7 separate regions of the Homo sapiens genome follow, and regions 1, 2, 3, 4, 5 and 7 are each linked to region 6. The links are contacts of gene promoters, found by promoter capture Hi-C in blood cells and fetal thymus (Javierre and others, 2016). All regions are on one chromosome and are shown on one strand. Each heading gives the region's core, a stretch centred on a gene start or on the middle of the fragment in contact. The rest is flanking DNA. Distances are from core to core; before and after follow the strand shown.

Region 1 (2,911 bases), core at 140-2,639, 290 kb before region 6:
ATCCATATTTTCAGGTTTTAGCCCTGGATAGATTAAACTCCATTGCAATGGACTATGTAAAGAAAGCTAGCAACCACCACAAAATCTACTTTGTGATGAAAAATGAAAATGGTGTGAAAAGAAAGTTTAAAATAAAGAAGACTAAAATGTCTCTACTTTTGGTTATTTTTTTAAAAAAGTATCTGGCCTCTTTAGAACACAGGAGATATGATCCCATTTTCTTAAATAATCCTTTAAATATGACTTGATGTTTTGAAATACACACTTCTTAATAGCCCATATGTGTTTACCAAGTCCGTAACAGCTGGCAAATGATAGGAATTAAACCTTAACTGTCAGACTCCAGTCATTCTGTTACCACTAAATTTTAGTCCACGAAGGAACCAACAAACTCACTTGCTATTTCTCTTCATCCCATTTTATCAATAGTTCAGATCTGCAATGCATGAATCAACCGGGATGAACTTCCTGTATTTTAGAAATCTAGGTCAGAACATTATCATTACTGAAAGAGGTTAAAAATAGACTTCACCTAATGTTGTTATAATACAACTTCATATATAAATAATTCATTCATTAAAATGTGAAGCTTATCAAGAATTGACATTGAACTCTTTTTGCTAACAGCTTTCTGTGCAATCCAAACGGGTTGCTTAAACTCTGTGAGCGTCAATTTCCTCAGTTTTAAAATAGGACTGTTAATACCTACTCTAACTCCCTTGAGATTTTGGTATAAATTCTGGGCACTTGAAGAACTTCAAAAAACAATGCAAAGGTAAGTTAATCAATAGTCATTTAGTCGTAAGTTTTGTGAGGGCAGAAACAACTTCTCATAGATTTTTGCACACTCAGAATTTAGCTCAGTGCCAAGCATATAGTAGGTACTAACTGAATGAATACTATTCATTAAAAAGATGAGCGAATGAATGAATAAACAATAGTAATTGAAATTCACAGAAAACATAGTGTAATGACTAGGAGGTAATAGTAAAAATGCATTCTTAGGCTTTTTCCTTTCCATCACCAAAATTACCATTGCCTTTAGGAAATCAGTAATTGTATTTTGGATCATATTTTTGCCACTTCTTCCTTTAGGCCAGTGGAGAAACTGCTGAATAGAAGTCTCCAGTGACTGTCAGATAAAATTCTGCCAGAGTTAAATAAGAGTATGGAGAGGTCAGACACAATTTGCACTCATCTACCTATTCCTAGAGTGTGGCCTTACATTTCATTCTTGTCTATTTCAGAAAGACAAGCCTTTGGGAAACCAGATAGATGAGTTTACAGGATTTCAATTCTAACTGAACGTAAAGATTGAGAAATAATAGAAAAAGTATAGTCTTTAATTTGGCCTTGTAGGTGATGTTAATTGTCAGCATTCTTAGTGCTGAGACCATTCGTTAACTATTGAGCCCTGAGAATCAACCACTAGAGTTTCTTCTCTAGGATTTTTGGGGAAAAGTCAGTTACTAATTACATTACCTGTACTCATAAGACTTAGTCAACAAGGCCCTTGATTGCTTTTATCACTGACATCTGGCTATCAACTATACTTGAACTAGCTAGGTCTGGGCTTCTCTGTGGCCAGAGTGTGTACATTAGTTGATGTCTGTGATATACCAATTACTTTTCTTATCTCATCTCTTTTCACTTTCAGAGACCAGGTGCAAATTTCCACAACTCCTTGTAGATCAAGCATGCATTTTCTTTGGTTTTACTTATAGTTATTCCTAAATAGCTATGTAGGGGAGGGAGGAATCTCATCCTTCCAGTGAAATCTGCGATCTTTGGGGCAGAAAGAAAAGTTAACAGCAAAGTGGTTAGATCAACTTGTAGGTGCTATGCTTCCCAGCGAGACTCTATACTACACTTGAATAATTTCTTAAAATATCAATGGCACTAAATACATGTTTAATAAAGAACTTTATACATGGACTTACACCTTCCTAAAATGTTACAACTATGCCACTTAACTGATAGGCATTTTAGTAAATCACATCCTTATGAAGAAATCAGCCCAGCCGAAGCTGGTTTATGGACCTACTACATTTGCAGATTTGTAGATTTACAGTGCAGAACAGAAAGCAGTCCAGGAAAAAGGATGCTTTCAACTTTTATCAGGTAAGGACCCTTGGTAAATATTAAGATTATTGGCTCTGAGCTTACATGAGTTGGATGAACAAAGCTTTGCCCAAGTAAGGGCTTCTCTGTACCTTTTCTGTACCTTTGTACCTTCGTACCTTTGTATCTCTGTACCTCTGTACCTTCTGTACCTTTGTACCTCTGTACCTTTTCTGTACCTTGTACATGAATTGAACGAACAAGCTTTGCCCAAGTAAGGGCTTCCCTGTACCTTCTCTGTACCTTTTCTCTGATATTTTAATTAATCAGCATCTTTTTCTAGAAGTCAACTTTCCAGAGACAGATGTAGTCCTATTCTACTCTTCAGGGTTTTCTTCTATCTAGACTATTGCTAAAGTAGAGAAGCCGCATTTCCAAAGGGGATATTTAAAGAGGACATCCTGATGCAGACTGCTGTTGCCTACCTTATATCTAGTCTGCCCTTTCAGCTTATTAGTAGAATCCTGCTTTTATTCACAATAGCAAGAAAACCTTGCTTAAAAACTATAATTCCTTGCTTTCCTTACATTAGGATTGAGCATGTGATGCAATTCTGACCAACAAGAAGTAAGCAGGAGTTGTCATTAATGTGTCCAGAAGAGCTCCCTAACAGGGAGGCAGACTCAGGAGGCTGCACCCTGTTGCCTTTTGCCCTTATCATTTCTCCTGCCTGGAATGGGAACAGAATGGGAACACAACAACTGGAGTGACAACAGTCACCTTCAGAGCCTGAGGATAAGAATTGCATCTTCAGGATGACACAGAGAAGAAACCTAGAAGGTCCTGGGGC
Region 2 (3,045 bases), core at 518-3,017, 330 kb before region 6:
TTGTTTTAAATGAGAAAATGTATATAAACATATCACTTAGGTTTGGACACTTGCAAAAATATTGAAAGATCAAATATTTCTAGAATCTGCATAAATGCTTACAGATTTCTATATCAGACACTGCAAAGGGAAATGTTCAGAGACTGGCAATTTCTTTTCTACACAACATGTGTTTCTTCTGTGTAGACAGAGAAAAGCAAATCAACTTCCTGGACATTACAGTGAGAACTGGTTCAGGTGGACCCATGCTAGTCAAACCAAAACAGTCATTTATAAAACTCTATGCCATAGGGTTCATAGGATTCCAGGAAAAGACTTCTAAAATGCTCCCTGAGGTGAGCTACATTGAAGAAGCATACTGCAAATTTAAAAATAAAAACAACAGGTCAGTTTTCTTCCACATATTTTCTTCAAACCATTGTGACTCTAAGTCCAAAAGAGTTATATATAGGAATGAAATAAACACAAAGGCAGAGGAAAAGACAGCCCAAGTCAATGCATAGAGATAGCACATGATCTAATTTTTTTAAGTTGTTAGCTAGTTGAACATTTTACATAGCAATACATTGAGTCAAAAATGAGTTGACTCAGTAAAATAAATATTTGAATAGAATGAAACTTACAATAAAAATAATTCAGGGCCAGGCACAGTGGCTCATGCCTGTAATCCCAGCACTTTGGGAGACTGAGGCTGGTGGATCACCTGAGGTCAGGAGTTCAAGACCAGCCTGGCCAACATGGTGAAACCCCATCTCTACTAAAAATACAAAAATTAGCCAGGCGTGGTGTTGGGTGCCTGTAATCCCAGCTACTCGGGAGGCTGAGGCAGAGAGAATTGCTTAAAACCCAGGAGGCAGAGGTTGCAGTGAGCTGAGATTGGGCTACTGCACACCAGCCTGGACGACAGAGCAAGACTGTGTCTCAAAATAATAATAATAATAATCTGGCATTTACTTATATTATGCATCACTATATGACGATGAGGCCTAAGCTTTTATAAACAATACACATATTCTAAATACTATCTTAGTATAGTCAAATTGAGTGCTTCTAGAGTTCTCTGGAAGGAGAAGAAAGAGGAACCCCTAAAGATTAATGAACTCACAACACAAAAGAATCTAGAGGCCAGGCGCGGTGGCTCATGCCTGTAATCCCAGCACTTTGGAAGGCTGAGGCAGGCAGATCACAAGGTCAGGAGTTCAAGACCAGCCTGACAAACATGGTAAAGCCCATCTCTACTAAAAATACAAAAATTAGCCGGGGCGTGGTGGTGGGTGCCTGTAATCCCAGCTACTCGGGAGGCTGAGACAGGAGAATCACTTGAAACGGAAGGTGGAGGTTGCAGTGAGCTGAGATCGTGCCACTGCACTCCAGTCTGGGCAAAAAGAGTGAAACTCTGTCTCAAAACAAACAAACAAACAAAATCTAGAGACCAGCCTTTCTGCTTCTGGGAAATGGGACTCCATGATCTAAAGGCTCAAGAACTAAGAACCACAGATTTTCTGCCATTCCACCCTAACCTCCCCTCAGGGCTGCCTTGTACACCTCTGGGGGAGGAGCTGGCACCATTCATATTCTAGATCATGTGAATGGAGGCCACTGGAATTGTGCAACATGACAGGGTTGAATCCCGGCCAGAGAAGAATATTAGGAGGAGTTGGCTGCTGTTTGCACTCCTCCACCCCTATTCGTACTTTGATTTTCCATTCAAACATTTATTCAACAACTATTTGTGGAGAACTATATCAGTCGGGACTCTTTAATGAAGACGTCAGAAAACCAAACTCCAGCTGGCTTAATCAAAAAGGGAATTTATTGTTTCATGTATACAGGCTTTAAGTGAATAGCTGCTGTCATCAGAATTAAGTGTCGCTCCCTATCCCTTCACTCCACTTCCTCTGTGTTGACTCTAATTCTGTGACAGTGTTTGGGTCATCCTTGTGACGCAGTGGGCAGCGCGTCAGTCTCATTATCTGATAGAACTTTGTAAATTATTTAGCACTGTATGAGCTACTAAAAGACAAAATTCTCCCAGTTAATAATCATCCCATTCTCCTAACTTTAGTATTAATTCCAAAATCAACATAATCACCTTGTGAGAACATTAACCCATTATTTAGTAGGTGAATAAGTCTTAAGGAATAATCTCAAAGTCACAACCTTAGATAAAACAGAGGCAATTCAGTCTGAATTGGGCTTGTTGGGGGTAGAGCTTGGGCACCAGCAATTTTAACAACTCTCCAGGTGATAAGACCAGTGGCCTGTGCATTCAACAGATAACGTTGAGAACTAATTTGTCTACATTTGTGAAAGGTTTAAAACAATTCAGTAGTTATTATGACATTAAAACATATTTACGTTATACAACTGAGAAGCTCTTATTGGAAACGGAGTCCTAAGGATGGATGTTACGGGTTTTCCAAAATACCTAGGATCTACAGAAGTCTCGAAGCTCTGTTTAAATTTCATTCTTGATGCCTACTCTGACCTTTGGATAGCATCTATTCACATATAATTTTAGGACAAAATCAGGGTAAAGCTTGAAGCCTCTGTTTGTAGTGATATCATCTTTGAGATATTAACATATGCGTCTTTTTTCTTCCAGTGTTTGCCTCTTTCCTTCTCATTCAAACAGAGAGTAATCCTAAGGAGAAGGGTGAAAAAAGGCAGAAAGCACAAAAGTCTGAATTGTTCTAGGTTTGGCTTTCAAATGCCTAAGAACTTAAGTAGAAAATAGCCAGAGTAGAGACAAAATATTTGGAAGAAACAGGAAAGAAAGATTCTGTATCTGTCATCGGCACACCTTCCCCACCACACACACACACACACACACACACACACACACACACACACACGCAGACTGGGAATCAGTCTTCTATTGATCATAATAGCAGAGACTTTGGAAGATCTTACAGGGAGGATCCTATGGGTCTATGACTCCTGGAGAGAAAGCATAACTGTGATAAGCCTAAGCAGAAGAAACTATAGAAAGCTAAGTCTTCCATGCTCCCCTCTCCCCAGAGCTTGGCACAAAAATAGCAACAA
Region 3 (2,700 bases), core at 199-2,698, 310 kb before region 6:
TTTAAAAAAGTTTAAAGACTTATTGCTGTTTGTATGTTGACATGTAAAATATGAATATCCATAAAATATAATAATGCTAGTTCAGAGGCCCAATATCAACATATTGTACATTTTTACTATGGGTTTTTATATGGCTATTTTGACTCTGCAAAATTATTCTTGTCATCTTATTCTGCGCTGGTGGCTTGACAAGGAGAGGGAGAAAATCAGGCCCTATCATTCCTCCCAAATCTATCGTTGAAACACTCTAAGGATTTGAGAGTTAAAGCACAAAGATCTACCAGCAACCACTGGGAGAAAAACACTGCATGTAAACATGGTGGGTTAGGAAACATCAGTTTCACGAAGAAGACCACTGGCTAAGAATCACAATATATGCTTCTACTTAGAGATTAAAATTTGTATTTTAAATAATAGCTTTTGGAAAAAGGATGTAAAGTGAAGGAAGAGCAACAGGAGCTTTTAACACGGGTATTCTTCTCAGTTGTGCTCTTCTCAATAAATGAAATCTCCTCGAAAACATTTGTTAGATAGAAGCAATTAAGGCGGAGGCTCTATCCTCTCTCCACTAATTAATTACAGCAAATGAGCCTGTAATGTGCATCATAACAACTTAATAAGCTGGACCAAACTATTTTAGATTCTGCCATGCTAGTATTTGATTGTTGCTGGGCTATGTAAATTAGGTAAGTAATATCTGAACATAAATAGCTTTTGAATTACCTGTGTCCTTCAAAATAAACTCTATATCTTGAGCAGATGTGCTATTTACAAGAAAGGGGTGAGAGCAGAGAATGGTATAGCAGATATGAGGACAGGGAAAGGAGGTGGAGACAGGGAAAACATGAGAGCTTACACAAACTATCATATTATCTTCAATAATTTAATATCCATCCTTTCTACAGCATGTTACAGCAGCCAACTGGATGACATTCCAACAACTCTGTCACATTTTTCAATTTCTGTTGGACCTGAACATTGAAGAATACATAGCTGTATTAGCCTCCCTTTTTTGACATCATTGGTTATATTATCAATTCTTGCCTCAAATATCTAACTGAACCTTGATCAAATTGTGACTAATACAAGCTCTTTAGTAATGTCTCTGCTTTTAATGAAACTTTAAAGAAAATTAGTGACTTATTGAGTCAATGAATAGACTTTGTACATCTGGGGATGAGTTCAAATACGGCTTACTGTCAACGAAACAAGCAAGAGCCCCAGACTAGCTGTGAATTATCTCAGACACAATTATCTGAAACTTTAAAGGCTGGTTTCTTTAAAAATCAAAGGTCAATATGTCTTCCAGGGAATAGCATCTGCTACCACCTCAACGTGTTAATTGACTAACTTCAGCAAATATCAAACAGATCCTCATCTCCCCTTCCTCAAAGTATAAATTGTTCACTGCCCACGAAGGTATAATTCAGGCATTTCCAGATTGGAAGGAGAAGAGGGCATAGGCAAGCAGATCTGGAGGTTTATCAGGTGATCTTTTCTGTAGACCCTTCTTTTTTGTTTATTATTTGTGTCAAGTTTCTCCAGAACATTAGAGCCAGGCATTTCCACGACAGAATGAAAAAGAAAGTTGTACAATTTTCTTAAATATTCTTGAAACATGAGCTGTTTAGTGTCAGAGGGGAGCCTAGCGGTTTGACCAACCAGAAGAATAAGCATAGGCTAGCGACAAAGAGAATAATTAATCAGTTATCTTCCTCTCTTCTCATTGTTGCACCCGTCATCTCTGGGATGTAATGGGTGAAAATGTAGACACGCACACAAAATCTATTTGAGGCCTAAGGGCAACTTTAATAGTGACACAAACTGGAATTGAACACATTTATTGAAGTCTGTTCCAAAATACATTTCATCCTCAAATTTATGATGCTCTTAGAATAAGGAGTAAATATATGCATACCTTTCAGGAGTCATGGTTTTGGTAAAATTTTGGACAGAATTGACACTGGACTATAAAATTGGGGCTCTAGGCTGGGAGCTGTGGCTCGTGCCTGTAATCCCAGCACTTTGGGAGGCCGGGGTGGGCAGATTACAAGGTCAGGAGATTGAGACCATCCTGGCTAACACAGTGAAACCCCGTATCTACTAAAAAATACAAAAAATTAGCCAGGCATGGTGGTGGGCGCCTGTAGTCCCAGCTACTCAGGAGGCTGAGGCAGGAGAATGGCACGAACCCGGGAGGCGGAGCTTGCAATGAGCCAAGATCACGCCACTGCACTCCAACCTAGGCGTCAGAGTAAGACTCTGTCTCAAAAAGAAAAAAAAAAAAAATTGGGGCTCTAACTCATTTCTTCTCTCACACCATCCCTTCCATCTCCCTTTTCCCAAGCAGGGTCTATTTTTGGCAAGTTCTTGCTAAGATGTCAAATAATAAAAATTTCAGGTGTGTCCTCTCCCAGGTGAATATGCATTTTTAAAAGGCAACTCCAAAACGGCAAAGCCTTTAAAGCTCTAAGGAATGACAGGCACAGGGATGTGTTGGTATATGATCAAGCCTCGGTGCCCTGTCAGTACTTCACTGATCTATTTACTGCTAAGGCCAGTCCAGGAGATACTCGAGCAATCAGAACAGACCAGTGAAGAGATATCTACATTGTGTTTACTCTTGTCCAGTAAATGAAAGAGTGTAAAGAAATTCCAGCTTTGAGAAAACTGTTCCTGAATTAGATATTTTCATTAAAA
Region 4 (2,867 bases), core at 18-2,517, 480 kb before region 6:
TCCCATTTAAATGATTACGGATTTTCTTTTCTCGCTCTCAACTGTGATCTAGCAACATGGATAACTGGAAATTGGAGGAATGTCTTTACCATGAGAAAAGGGACTGAACCATAGGGGAAAAAACACCATAGTGGTCACCTTATTTTTGCAGGAAAAAAAGCAAAAAATAAAAAAATAAATAAAACAAAACAAGCAAACAAATAAAACCCCCTAGCATTAATATTCTCAGACATGAGAAGATATTATAACCATGAGAGAAGAACAGGAAGAAATTAAAAGGAACATTTATAAAATAAAACTGATATTTTAGAAATTAACAATATGATGGAGAAAATAATTCTAGTTGAGAAAAAATTTTCAGAAATTTTGGCATAAAGAAAAAAGTAAATAAGATAAAGAATAATTTTTATCTGTTATAGACAATGATTTGGTGGTAATATTTGAAGGAAAGAGGATATTTAAAATTACAGAAACCAGCAGATTGTACAGCTTGAGATAAAATGAGAGAATAATTCAATTTATACAGTTCTTTAAACATCAAAACATAGAAAACAGTAAAACTTTAAGTGTCAGAACATCAAGGCAGGTAGCAAGTTCTCAAACACTAAATTAAATGAGTCTTACTTCCATCACCAATACAGTGAAAAATCTGTTACATGAGGCTTATTAGCAAGTCATGATCTCAATGCCCCTATTTTTGATGAGAAGTGAAGGCATAACCTAGACTCACAGACTAGTGCAAAGAATGCCCCTTTATGTGAGTCAGTCCAGTTAGTCTTTACAAGCTCCATAAGGGGCAAGGTGGGGTGGACTCTCAATCCCTGTGGCTGCTTCTGTGACACCTCTGATTCAACCAAAAGAAATTGTTGACCAAACTTAATTTGCTTTTTCCTTCATTTCTTATATTGCTGTGATTCATTTGGAATGCCCTTGAGGTTCTATGTGTTATTAGATGCTGGAAAAATTTTGACAAGATCAAGTATACCCTAGCAACATGAAATAGAGAATTGAGATAGTTAAGAAGAAATGCTAGATTAATATTTCACTTTCCCTAAAATATGCATGTAGTTGAGACTAAAGTATTCTTAAAATTCTCTGCTTCGTTTTACTTCTAGGGTTAATCTCTGTCCGTGACTTGCAGAAGGATATAGAGCGTAGGCAATTGTTAAATAAATTTGATTCATGTATATCAATGATGCCCAATAGAATCACCTGGTGTGACCCATGCCACACCAATTAAATCACAATCTGTGGGCTTAGGGCCAGGGCATCAGTGTTGTTTTCAAGATACTAAGTGCAGCAATAATCGATAACCACTGATAAAGTTACTTCAATGCCTATTTATACTTTTTAAATTCGGTGATTACAAAACATATACTTTCTTTGAAGCTATACAGATATAGTATCCAAATTGGTGATCACAATTGATTAGTTTAAGTAGCTTCAAAATTGGCATGTGGCTTTCTTGACTAGGTTCCCAGAATCTAGATGTAATAGGTTGGGTGTTGGGGCAGGATGTAGAAACTGTTAACATTGTTCTTGGAGTGCCTGGCTGGCTTGAAGCAAAAGATTGATATACATAAATTTTATTGGATTGTAAGAATAATGATCCTGCGTCTAGTTATGCATCTTCATAGGAAAGGTTTTAAAATGTACTTTCAGGGCATTATATTTGAATCCAGCATTAATAAGCTCTGGAAACAAGAATGGGCTATTTTACTCTTGGTGAGAGGGCCAGAGCCTTACAGATGTATGCATGAGCAAAGGATCACCTGAACCTAATGATTATCTTCCTAATTGGCTCCTGGGAAGTTATGTATAAACATATTTTCATTGAGTCATTACTCTGTTTTTTTCCCCCAAGTTCAGTGGCATTTTCTCTGAAGAGATAATAATAGAGCTACCCTAACAGTGGAAAATAACCTCCAGTAGTCTATTAGAAATGGTTACAAAAAGAAGAAGGAGAAAAAAGAAAAGAATGAGAAGAAATGGAGGGGAAGACAAAGAGAATGAAGAGAATGACGGTGATGACAATAATAAAGAAGGAAGAAGAGGAAGTGGAGAAAAAGAAGCAGGAGGTAGATCAGGAGGAAGAAGAGGAGAAAAAGAAAGTGAAGCAGCAGCAACAGCAGCAGCAGTGGTAGGGTAAATGCCAATGCCAGTTAAGGCTTTTCACAGCGCTCCTTACGACCTCCAAGGGTACCTGTAGAAGTTTGTAGATTCCTGGGCCTCAGGCCATTCCAGAATCAGAATGGGAGGAGCGATGCTTAGGAAGCTGCACTTTAAACTACCTTGATACTTAATCCACGTAAGTATTATGCATAGTAAACCATCTGAAAATGATTGTCCTACAATACGTTGGGCATTAATGCCAGGGATACTGTCCATTTAACTCACGTAGTTTCCAAGTTCCTAGTCTTACCAAAGCAACAAATGGTAATAACATTTTAGGATAACATAAACCTAGAAACATAGGGCTTCTGAGTGTAATCTAAAATCATGGACAGTTCTCTTCAATGCAAAGCAAAGAAAATGGCAGAAGACAGACCAATCATAATGACAGCTAGATTTTATTGAGTACTTACTATGGGCTAAGCAATGTTCTCAGTGCTTTACATAATTTAGTCCATTCAAATCTCATAAATAGTATTATTTCCTCTGTTTCATGAGGAAGCTGAAGATTCAGGAGCTATTCCAGGTAACAGTGCTGGTAAGGGGTAGAGAGGACTCAAATACTTACCTGCTTAAAATATTAAACATCAAACTATTCCACATAAGTGGAAGGTAGAAGAAGCACTACAGACCTGAGTTCTGGTGTTAGCTCTGTGAGATTATCTATGCAAACTCTGTTAGCCTTGCTTACCTGT
Region 5 (2,759 bases), core at 179-2,678, 380 kb before region 6:
GCACCTTAATTTCAGAAAATAGAACAGAACTTTAAACTGAAAACATTTAACATCATTTTATTAAAAAATCAATAAGTTGTCCTACTTTCTCATTTTCCTATCTTTGGTTAAAGAATTTATTTTGGCTAGGTGCCAGTATTGTGAGATCCATTTGGAAAATTGCAATCTACAGCTGAGGTCTTTAAATTTTTATCTTGTGTACCCCCTAAAAGAATTTTTAAAATCTGTAAATGTGTTTTTTTTTAGTGAGGTTAAAGATTTTCATCATCATTTTAACAATTGCAAACTATGTATGAGTGCATTGTACATGTTGCTATTTTAAAATAAAACTGTTAATAGCTCTTTTTAAAAATATGAAATTGTGATCATTCTTCTAGAAACAAAATATTTCCTTCAATACCAAATGTAAGCTTCATTGCCCTATTCCCACACCTTTCTTCATACACAATAACTTTTTGTCTCAATGCTCAATTACAGTATCATAATTTTAAAGACATTTTAAATGGCAATGGAATCAACTTATGCGGTACCAAAAATGCACATAACTCAGTGAAGCAATGATACTATGAACAAGTACAACAGGATTCCCGTAGGCTCAGGGCGTTTGTGGCATGATTGTGAAACACATCCCATTTTCAGAGATGTGCAAATGTGGGAAATAAAGAATTGAGGAGATATGGCTGGGTGATCTCAATGAGAAGGAGTCATACGGCTAGCTATGAGGGAAGAACCAATCTATGCTAGCTTGCAAGAAAAAGAGAATTCAATTCAATCTTATGTATGGGACTAGCTGCCTTTCCATTTTATAATTAGGGTCTGTCCTTTGACAAGTCTCCAAATAGACCTGAAATATGGACCTGGCTTAAAGGCAGGTAGGCAGAAGCCAGGCAGCAATGCGTCTTCTAAGGACAGTGGTTCTCCAAGAGTGGCTTCCAGATCAGCAGCCCCAGCCTCACCTGAGCACTTGTTCAAAATGTAAATTCTCAGGCCCCAATCCAGCCCCGCTGCATTGGAAAATATGGGGGTGGGCCCAGCACTCTGTTTTAACAATCCCCAGCTGGTTTCCATATGTGCTAAAAGTTGGGGAACCACTGCCTCAAAAACACCCCCAACCAACAATGAAAAAGCAGATGAGTTAAGTTTTTCTGTTTATTTCCTTTTTATTATCCTATTTGTCTATGAAGTCATATTTAAACTTCCAGGCTCTTCCCATGTGTCCTCAGAGGAATTAAGGAAGGAGGCCTGTGTTTGCTTGAGCCAGAATGTCCAGGAGGGCACACCTGGAGGGCATCATGGTGGTGGTGGCGGCAGCCACTCTATATTAGTGAGAATTAGTGAGGAAGAAGAATCTTGGGGAATACAGCCTTGGATTCAGTTTGGTCTCACATTGAGGACTGTACATTACCACCATCACTTGTTAAACTTAGGGGATTTGAGTTGATTTTATCAAGGAATTTTTTTCTAAGGTAAAGGTAATTTTTGGTTGGGAGAAGCTATTAAATCCACGAAATCATATTGTGAGAAAGTTCTTTTCAACTTCCCTGTACTCATCATACTGTCTAGAGAAAGTCTCCATTTAGTGTATTCAACATATCTTTAACACTTAACATAAGGAGAAAAAGATTTAGGCTCAGTGCCGTGGTAGGTTCATGTTCCTAGCTAGAATTCAATAATATTTTATTGTTTTTACCATTACTTCTCTTCCTGGATATCATTTATTATGACAGAGGATACTGGTTTTCCACTTGAAGTCATTATCTGAAAGTTTAATCTAAAGAAAGTTTATTTAAGTAAAACAAGCACCATTTGAAAGAAAAACACCCAGAAAGGGATAATAGAGGTGGTTTAAGGATACAGTATGTAAATGGGAACCACTATATTAAGAAGACTGTGGGTTGTTATCCTGGCACTTACACTAATGAGACTTCAAATTCAAAAAGAAAATTGTTATTTCGAATTTGACCTTCAGGCTGGCTTTCAGGTTTCAAACATAGTATCTTGAGCCTTAGTGAGTTATACACTGATTTGTAAAAAACAAAACAACAAACCAAAACCAAGCAGGGTGGAGGGGTGGGGTGGAGGGTGGGGGGATGGGAGTGGGCAGGAATGAAAGGAGATTGTGATCAAGATTTCTAGAGTAACATTTTTTAAGATGAAAACTTGAATTAAATGTATGGTAAGTGATACTTTCTAATGACAAGGGGACAAATAAGAAGACACAACTCTCCATTACTAAGAGCAATTAAAGTGCAAATAATTCCTTCTGAGAATCATGATTATTTACATGCTGGATACAAATTATCCTTCTGCATAGAATCTCACAGGCATTTGGATTTAAGAAAATCTAGTTTTATTAGTCCTAGGATCAGGATTTCTCTACTGAACTATTTCTGTTAACTGTTTTTCTAACTTCATATGCATCTGAAGTATACTCACTGAAGCTTCCTTAGACAAACATAGCAATGGTAGATTTTGACTATGAATTACAGACTATTTCATGTCCATTATCATTCATTTAGTAACGAGCATCATAAGTTCAGTATATAGACTTACAGCTGTAATGTAAGTTAATTTCTAAATGGAAAATAGTCATAGTATATACTGCGTAGAGCTTGGAGCAAATCTTACAGCTTACTGTTTTGGAAGATGTGAAAGTTTCTTGTAAAGTCAAGTAAATGATAATCAAAGTGGGAAGCAACATCCTCCTTTGAAGGGTGATGCTTCAGTGTGAAGAGGTTATAAACTGGGGTAAACAACAA
Region 6 (2,716 bases), core at 142-2,641:
AAAATACTGATTAAATATCTATAAACTTTCCCGGGGAATCCCAGTAGAACAGAACATGGTTTTATAAGCTGAGGGTAAAAACAAGCGTCTCAGTTTTTTTATTAAAAGAACTTTTTTAAACTGCCTTTCAACAGTTTGAAAGCTTTCAATGGTTTGTTTTATCTGGTGTTTCTGATCAACCAATTAATCCATCCTCTGACAGGAACCCATCTGTCAGTCTATCCACACACAATCTGAAAGGGACTCCAGATTAGGCTCCCTCTTTTAGCCACGCCTACACAGGAAGCATCCTGTGGATGGAATGGAAAGTATGCCAGGCCTTTGCACGCCCCTCACGCCCCCATCTCCTTCGCTTAACCTCGACAGCCTCTTACCTTTAAACCCTAGCTAGGTTTTCACACAGCCCTATCAAATAAAAAGGACAATACTCAAACTGAATTAGAGAATGAGAATTGTCGAGGTTTCTTTTAATTTAGATCAATGCCAGTTTTACTCTTCTTCTAGAGTCCTTTTTAAGGAGATATCATCCCCACCAGTTGTGATCCCAGAGAATCACAACAGGGCATGGCGTAGGAAAGACCTCGAAGCTCAATTCTCTATTATACCATGCCCACCATACGAAAGGCATTTAACCTCCCGCGTGATTTTGTCCTTAAGATGCTCCACAAGATCTAACACAACTCCTACATCTAAGAGTCGACTCACTAATTTCAAGGGTTTTTGTTTTTGTTTTTGTTTTTATAAGCTCTGCGTGTGGCACCCGATAACTTCAAGTTTAGAGTGAGCAGTTTCCTCCCAATGCCGTTTGCTCAACTACAGTACTAGGAGTTTTGAGGAGCAGCTCTCTAGCGAGTCCTCCTGCTGCGTCCTCCCCCACACGCACGCACCAAGTTCCACAGCTTCCGCAGCCGTCGGGGAACAAAGTCCTTATTTGGTCACGGCCATCCCCTTACATAGTGGAGGTGGAGATCCTCCTCTCCAAGGACCACCCGCGTAGGGCGAGATTCCCCAATTCTGACTTTTCACTACTATCCCCCACAGGGGCGGGGCTCCAACTCCAGGTAACCAGACCAGGCAACCTGGACTTCCAATTAGCAGGGGAGTCCCCAAGCCAGCCTGGCCAATCTCGGCCGGCTAGCCAAGACGACCAGACGTGACGTCAGACATGATTAAGTTGGCGCGTCACCTAGACGTCAGCCTCTTACCTCTCGGACGTCCCGTCCCAGGAGCAAAACTCTAGTGACTTTGGGCCCGCCCCCGTGAGAGTGGAGGGCGGCCGATGAGGGCGGTTCTGAAGGGAACAAGACCAATGAGACGAGCCCGGGGCGGGGCGCGGGGCCGGAGGGTGGGGCGGGTGGCGGCGGTGGCAGTCCGAGGTCTGGCTCCGCGCAGTATATGACAGTACGTCAGCAGCGGGATGGCCCTAGCAGTGGCGGCGGCTGCAGAAGCCCAAGCAGCCGCGGCCGCAGTGGAGGCTAGAGCCGGAGCGGCGGCGGCGGCGGCACCCCGGGGAGTTTAAGATGGCGGCGGGGGGGACAGGGGGCCTGCGGGAGGAGCAGCGCTATGGGCTGTCGTGCGGACGGCTGGGGCAGGACAACATCACCGTACTGCATGTGAAGCTCACCGAGACGGCGATCCGGGCGCTCGAGACTTACCAGAGCCACAAGGTGAGCGGGCCGGCCGGCAGGCTGGGCTCAGAGAGGCAGAGCGCACCCCTCACGGCCTGGCCGCGCCCGGGTGCGGGGCCGGCGGAGCCGTGGCTGGCAGCTGCTACCGTCAGCGCCCGCAGCGGCCAGGCAGGGCAGGGCCGGGCAGGGTGGCTGACGCCGCGGTCCCGGGCTAGCCTGGGCGTTGGGGAAGCGGGCAGTCGGGCGGCCCCTGGCGGCGGGGCCGAGGCAGCCGCAGCCCTGGGTCGGCTGCGCTGCCGCTGCGGGACTTTCCGACGGCCCCCGAGGATTTCCTGGCTTGTTGGGTCCCAAGGAGGGAGAGAGGCCCCGATAAGAGAAGTGAGATGACCACGCTACCCTCGGCGGGGAAGGAGGGTAGCGAGCAGCGTATGGGCAAGGAACCAGGGACGACTCGCGGGCACCAGCTGCCCGCGTTTTCCAGTTACATAGGCACGGTGGATCCTCAGAGACAGGACACAGGCGCTCCGCGTGTGGGGGTGGGACCTTGTATTCCCAGGGACTTGGGGACACAGGCGCTCCACGTATCAGGGGACACACTGTGTGCTCGAAGGGATGGGGACTCGGGCGCATGGTGAGGGGCACACGGTGTACTCATAGAGATAGGGACTTAGGCAGTCCGTGTAAGGGGGCGGCGCACACTGGAACGGCGGGGACACTGGCGCTTCGCGTACGGGGGGGGAGGGGACACACCTGCATTCCCAGGGACTCCGGGACACCGGCGCATCGCGTTACTGGAGACGCGCCGCGTCCAGGACGGACACAAACCAACACAGTGCCCTGGGGAGAGACCTGAGGACTCACGCACACTTAGCGCTCCCCGGGAGCAAGACATCGGGTTCTGGAGAGAGAGGTTCACGGACGCTCAACGTACCCGAAAAAGCTCCCGGCGTCTTGGGCTGACTCTGGGAAGTGTAAACGGGGAACGAGCCAGAGCCAGAAGGTGTGGGGAGGATACAATGCATCCCGGGCAGAGACTCGGGCCTCTCACCCCTCGTTTTCGAGAGAAGCCCATGGACACACACACACAC
Region 7 (2,841 bases), core at 27-2,526, 320 kb after region 6:
AAGGGAGAAATCTGCATGTCTTCCTTGACTCTTCCCTTTTCCTTGTCGCACCCCTTCCTGCCCGTCTGTAGAGAAAGGAGTTCGCATAGCTGACCTGAGACTGCTATCCTTAAAAAGGTCTGCTTGTAAGGTTGGCCCTTCGCTGACATGTGAGAACTTGGCAGGTAAACAGTCCCTTACTGTCGTGCCAAAGCCCTATTAACCTCAGTAGGAAAGGAACCAGGTTCAAGAGGCCGAAGAAGAGACCTAGAGCCAGCAAACAAAACATGGTGTTTTATTAGGTGCTTACAGAGTCCAGTGGTGGTGGGATGGGCAGGAAAACTGCAACCGCCTGCAACCATCATGCAGTTTATATGGTATTTTCACTTTATACCCTCCCCCTAACAATCTCCACCTGGCAACCTTCATGTATCCCAAAATTCAGGGCCTCAGTCCCCTATATTAGATGTTTCTCATAGATAAAGAATGACTCTTCAGGTTAGCTACTCCCAGATTCCCTAGCTCAGAACATACATTCAGGTGCATCTGCCATATGGGGTCATTCTGAGGGTATGCATAAATTATTACTATCAGGTGAGTTTATCCGACACCTACACCTACACATACAAAGCTTTCCCTAAATAATAAAAGTGATTCCCTGTGCGTAAGCTATTTGTACAAACAATGCACTTGCTTTTCCTTCTGAGATTCTAGAACTTGGTACCTGCTAGGCAGAGGTGCCTGTGACCAATGTCCAGTAAAAACTCTGGCTGCTGAGGCTCAGTCTTTCCCTGGCAAAAACATTGCAGGCATGTTTCTACATTTTCATTTCTGGAGGAAGAATGCAGTCTGTGTGACCCCTCGCGAAAGGGAGAACACTTAGGAATCCTGCACACGAAGTCTTCCATGCTCTGCCTGAGTCTTTTTCTTTACAATCCAGCTGTGTATCCTTACTACGTTTCTGTAATAGCGTAACTGTAATGAGTCCCAGAATCTAGTGAATCTCCAAATGTGAAGGGGGTCTTAGGGACCCTTGATATCCCCCCATATCTAATCCAGCACTGAGTCCTGCCAATTCTTCCTAAAATTTATCTGAAATCACACCGCTTCTTACCTTATCTGCTATCACCACCCTGAAGGTACCATCATCTTTTATTTGTGTTGGACTTTGAGAGGGCCCAATAACACCTTTCTTTTATTTTCTGCCTGAGTTTGGAACCAGTTGAGAGACACAGAAAGAGATCAAGGTGTGAGCTTTATTTAATTATGAACGTCTCAATTGGGGTGGCTTAAACATGCAGCCAAAGGGACTAACAGCCTCCTGAATTAAACTTATGTATCAAAACTCTCTTAAAACTGTCCTCTCTAGCGGACAGACTAGATTGTACCCTCTCTACAGGTACACAAATCTGTAGAAAGAAGAAAGGAGCTAAGCTGAGCATACCAGGAGAAGTGAGTGAAGGTTGGAGATTTGACTAGCTGAAACACTTCTTGTTCACTGCTGATTTTTATCTTCCTGGTGGGACTCCAAGTCCTGAGCATTAAGCAAATGATACACAGCTGACGTAAGTGGGGGTGTGGAGAAGAGAGTCTGATCAGCAAATACCACCGAACCTACATTGAGCCTGAAGCAAAACACTGGCCATTTGTACCAAGCCAGGCTTAGCAAATACACACAACAGAGCTATGTGGGCCCAGCAAAGGCAAACCCCAGAGAGCTTTAGGTGACGTGGGCCTCGGGTGCAAGCTGCTGCTCCTTGACCTTCAACAACATTCAGAACATATTCATTCTGCTACACTGAGTGTTAGCAGAGATAGGGAGGCCACAAAGACCTAAGAAAGCAGGTATAACTAAGACAAGGTCTAAATTATGTCTTTAAGGACTTTGGCCTTTCAGACAGTAGTGGGTAGAGTCAGGTTTGCTGCAGTTAGAGGTAGTGATATTGATGAAACTGAAGCTTCAGGTTCCCATATTTGCATGGGGCCTTCCAAGATCCTGAGGTCCTGAGGGACACTAGTAATGTGTTCACATGGTCATATGCTCTCGCCCTCTCACCCCTACCCCTCACATATATAATTATATATAATTTGGTAACAAACACAAAAATACAGAAAAATACAGGGAAACTCTATTCCCAAACGCCCATTTGAGAGTATAGTACCAATCTGATGCCCCGTCAGTCCCTAATGCTTTAGTATGTATTTTCTCCAAATCTGGACATTCTTCTACATAACCACAATACAACCATCCAAATCAGGAAGTTAACACTGACACACTACCATCTAATCCTCAAATTCAGTTCAGAATCAAGATTGTATGTTTAGTTTTCATGTCTCTAGCTTTCTTCAGTCTGAGATATCTCCTTAGTCTTTCTTTAACATTTATGATATTTGCATTTTTGAAGATTACAGGCCATTCATTTTGTAGAATATCCCTCAGTTTGAGTTCATCTGATGTTTCCTCCTGATTAGATTCAGGTAATGAAGGCACATCACAGAGACTGGACTTTGAGCCTCTGTAGGCTGCCCCTTGATTCCCTTCCCACTGGGCTTGAGCTGGCCGTGCTATGTCACTACACCATGTTGCCATCTATCCCACTAGGGCTCTGACACTCCTCTGTGAGCCACCTTGGTCACTCCTCCTTCTCATCCCCCTAGCCAGCATGTGTGTCTTCCCCGCTCTGTCCCACCTACTGGCTTTAGGACTGAATTGTTCAGAAAGGAGAAAGAAGACAGGGAGGAATAATGATAATAATGTTTTTGTAAAATGTGTAAAAGCAAAGTAATTTAACTTCTGTGGATCAAGGCCATTGTTTTTCTTCTGTCACTCAGACATTTTGGGGACCTGGCTAAGGGGCGTCT

The links. The method cuts DNA at HindIII sites, captures the fragments that hold promoters and counts their contacts. A CHiCAGO score of 5 or more calls a contact.
Region 1: a contact is called between a fragment that was not itself captured here and the fragment with the promoter of ELL2 in region 6, in 5 of 17 cell types (endothelial precursors, erythroblasts, M1 macrophages and 2 more). The highest score is 11.6, in endothelial precursors.
Region 2: a contact is called between a fragment that was not itself captured here and the fragment with the promoter of ELL2 in region 6, in 6 of 17 cell types (M0 macrophages, M2 macrophages, M1 macrophages and 3 more). The highest score is 13.6, in M0 macrophages.
Region 3: a fragment that was not itself captured here is called in contact with the fragment with the promoter of ELL2 in region 6 in 5 of 17 cell types (M2 macrophages, endothelial precursors, M1 macrophages and 2 more); the score reaches 10.1 in M2 macrophages.
Region 4: a fragment that was not itself captured here is called in contact with the fragment with the promoter of ELL2 in region 6 in 1 of 17 cell types (total B cells); the score reaches 5.2 in total B cells.
Region 5: a fragment that was not itself captured here is called in contact with the fragment with the promoter of ELL2 in region 6 in 17 of 17 cell types (M2 macrophages, M1 macrophages, M0 macrophages and 14 more); the score reaches 31.5 in M2 macrophages.
Region 7: a fragment that was not itself captured here is called in contact with the fragment with the promoter of ELL2 in region 6 in 3 of 17 cell types (fetal thymus, naive B cells and non-activated CD4 T cells); the score reaches 6.4 in fetal thymus.

The regions. Positions count from the first base shown.
Region 1 is chr5:96,250,334-96,253,244 of GRCh38, reverse strand. The region is part of intron 1 of LOC101929710 (a long non-coding RNA gene); the gene reads right to left. It also overlaps a transcript of CAST not described here. Among named protein-coding and RNA genes, the nearest start is that of MIR583, 170 kb to the right of the region's middle. The HindIII fragment of the contact is 1,596 bases long and covers 592-2,187 here.
Region 2 is chr5:96,291,654-96,294,698 of GRCh38, reverse strand. The region is part of intron 1 of LOC101929710 (a long non-coding RNA gene); the gene reads right to left. It also overlaps a transcript of CAST not described here. Among named protein-coding and RNA genes, the nearest start is that of PCSK1, 140 kb to the left of the region's middle. The HindIII fragment of the contact is 1,548 bases long and covers 994-2,541 here.
Region 3 is chr5:96,273,689-96,276,388 of GRCh38, reverse strand. All of the region lies in intron 1 of LOC101929710 (a long non-coding RNA gene), which reads right to left. It also overlaps a transcript of CAST not described here. Among named protein-coding and RNA genes, the nearest start is that of PCSK1, 160 kb to the left of the region's middle. The HindIII fragment of the contact is 3,261 bases long and covers 1-2,700 here.
Region 4 is chr5:96,442,062-96,444,928 of GRCh38, reverse strand. The region is part of intron 4 of LOC101929710 (a long non-coding RNA gene); the gene reads right to left. It also overlaps a transcript of CAST not described here and the pseudogene LOC102724070. Among named protein-coding and RNA genes, the nearest start is that of PCSK1, 10 kb to the right of the region's middle. The HindIII fragment of the contact is 7,284 bases long and covers 1-2,867 here.
Region 5 is chr5:96,340,657-96,343,415 of GRCh38, reverse strand. The region is part of intron 3 of LOC101929710 (a long non-coding RNA gene); the gene reads right to left. The region is part of intron 1 of LOC107986365 (a long non-coding RNA gene); the gene reads right to left. It also overlaps a transcript of CAST not described here. Among named protein-coding and RNA genes, the nearest start is that of PCSK1, 91 kb to the left of the region's middle. The HindIII fragment of the contact is 2,031 bases long and covers 413-2,443 here.
Region 6 is chr5:95,960,526-95,963,241 of GRCh38, reverse strand. It overlaps ELL2 (elongation factor for RNA polymerase II 2), which reads left to right and starts at 1,391. Exons shown (of 12, transcript NM_012081.6): 1 at 1,391-1,667. The coding sequence starts at 1,521. LOC101929710 (a long non-coding RNA gene) reads right to left here and starts at 1,241. Exons shown (of 5, transcript NR_130776.1): 1 at 1,206-1,241. It also overlaps a transcript of CAST not described here. RefSeq lists silencers at 835-1,302, 1,258-1,497, 1,568-1,977 and an enhancer at 782-1,539. The HindIII fragment of the contact is 3,633 bases long and covers 145-2,716 here.
Region 7 is chr5:95,640,708-95,643,548 of GRCh38, reverse strand. No RefSeq gene overlaps it. Among named protein-coding and RNA genes, the nearest start is that of RFESD, 4.6 kb to the left of the region's middle. The HindIII fragment of the contact is 1,327 bases long and covers 613-1,939 here.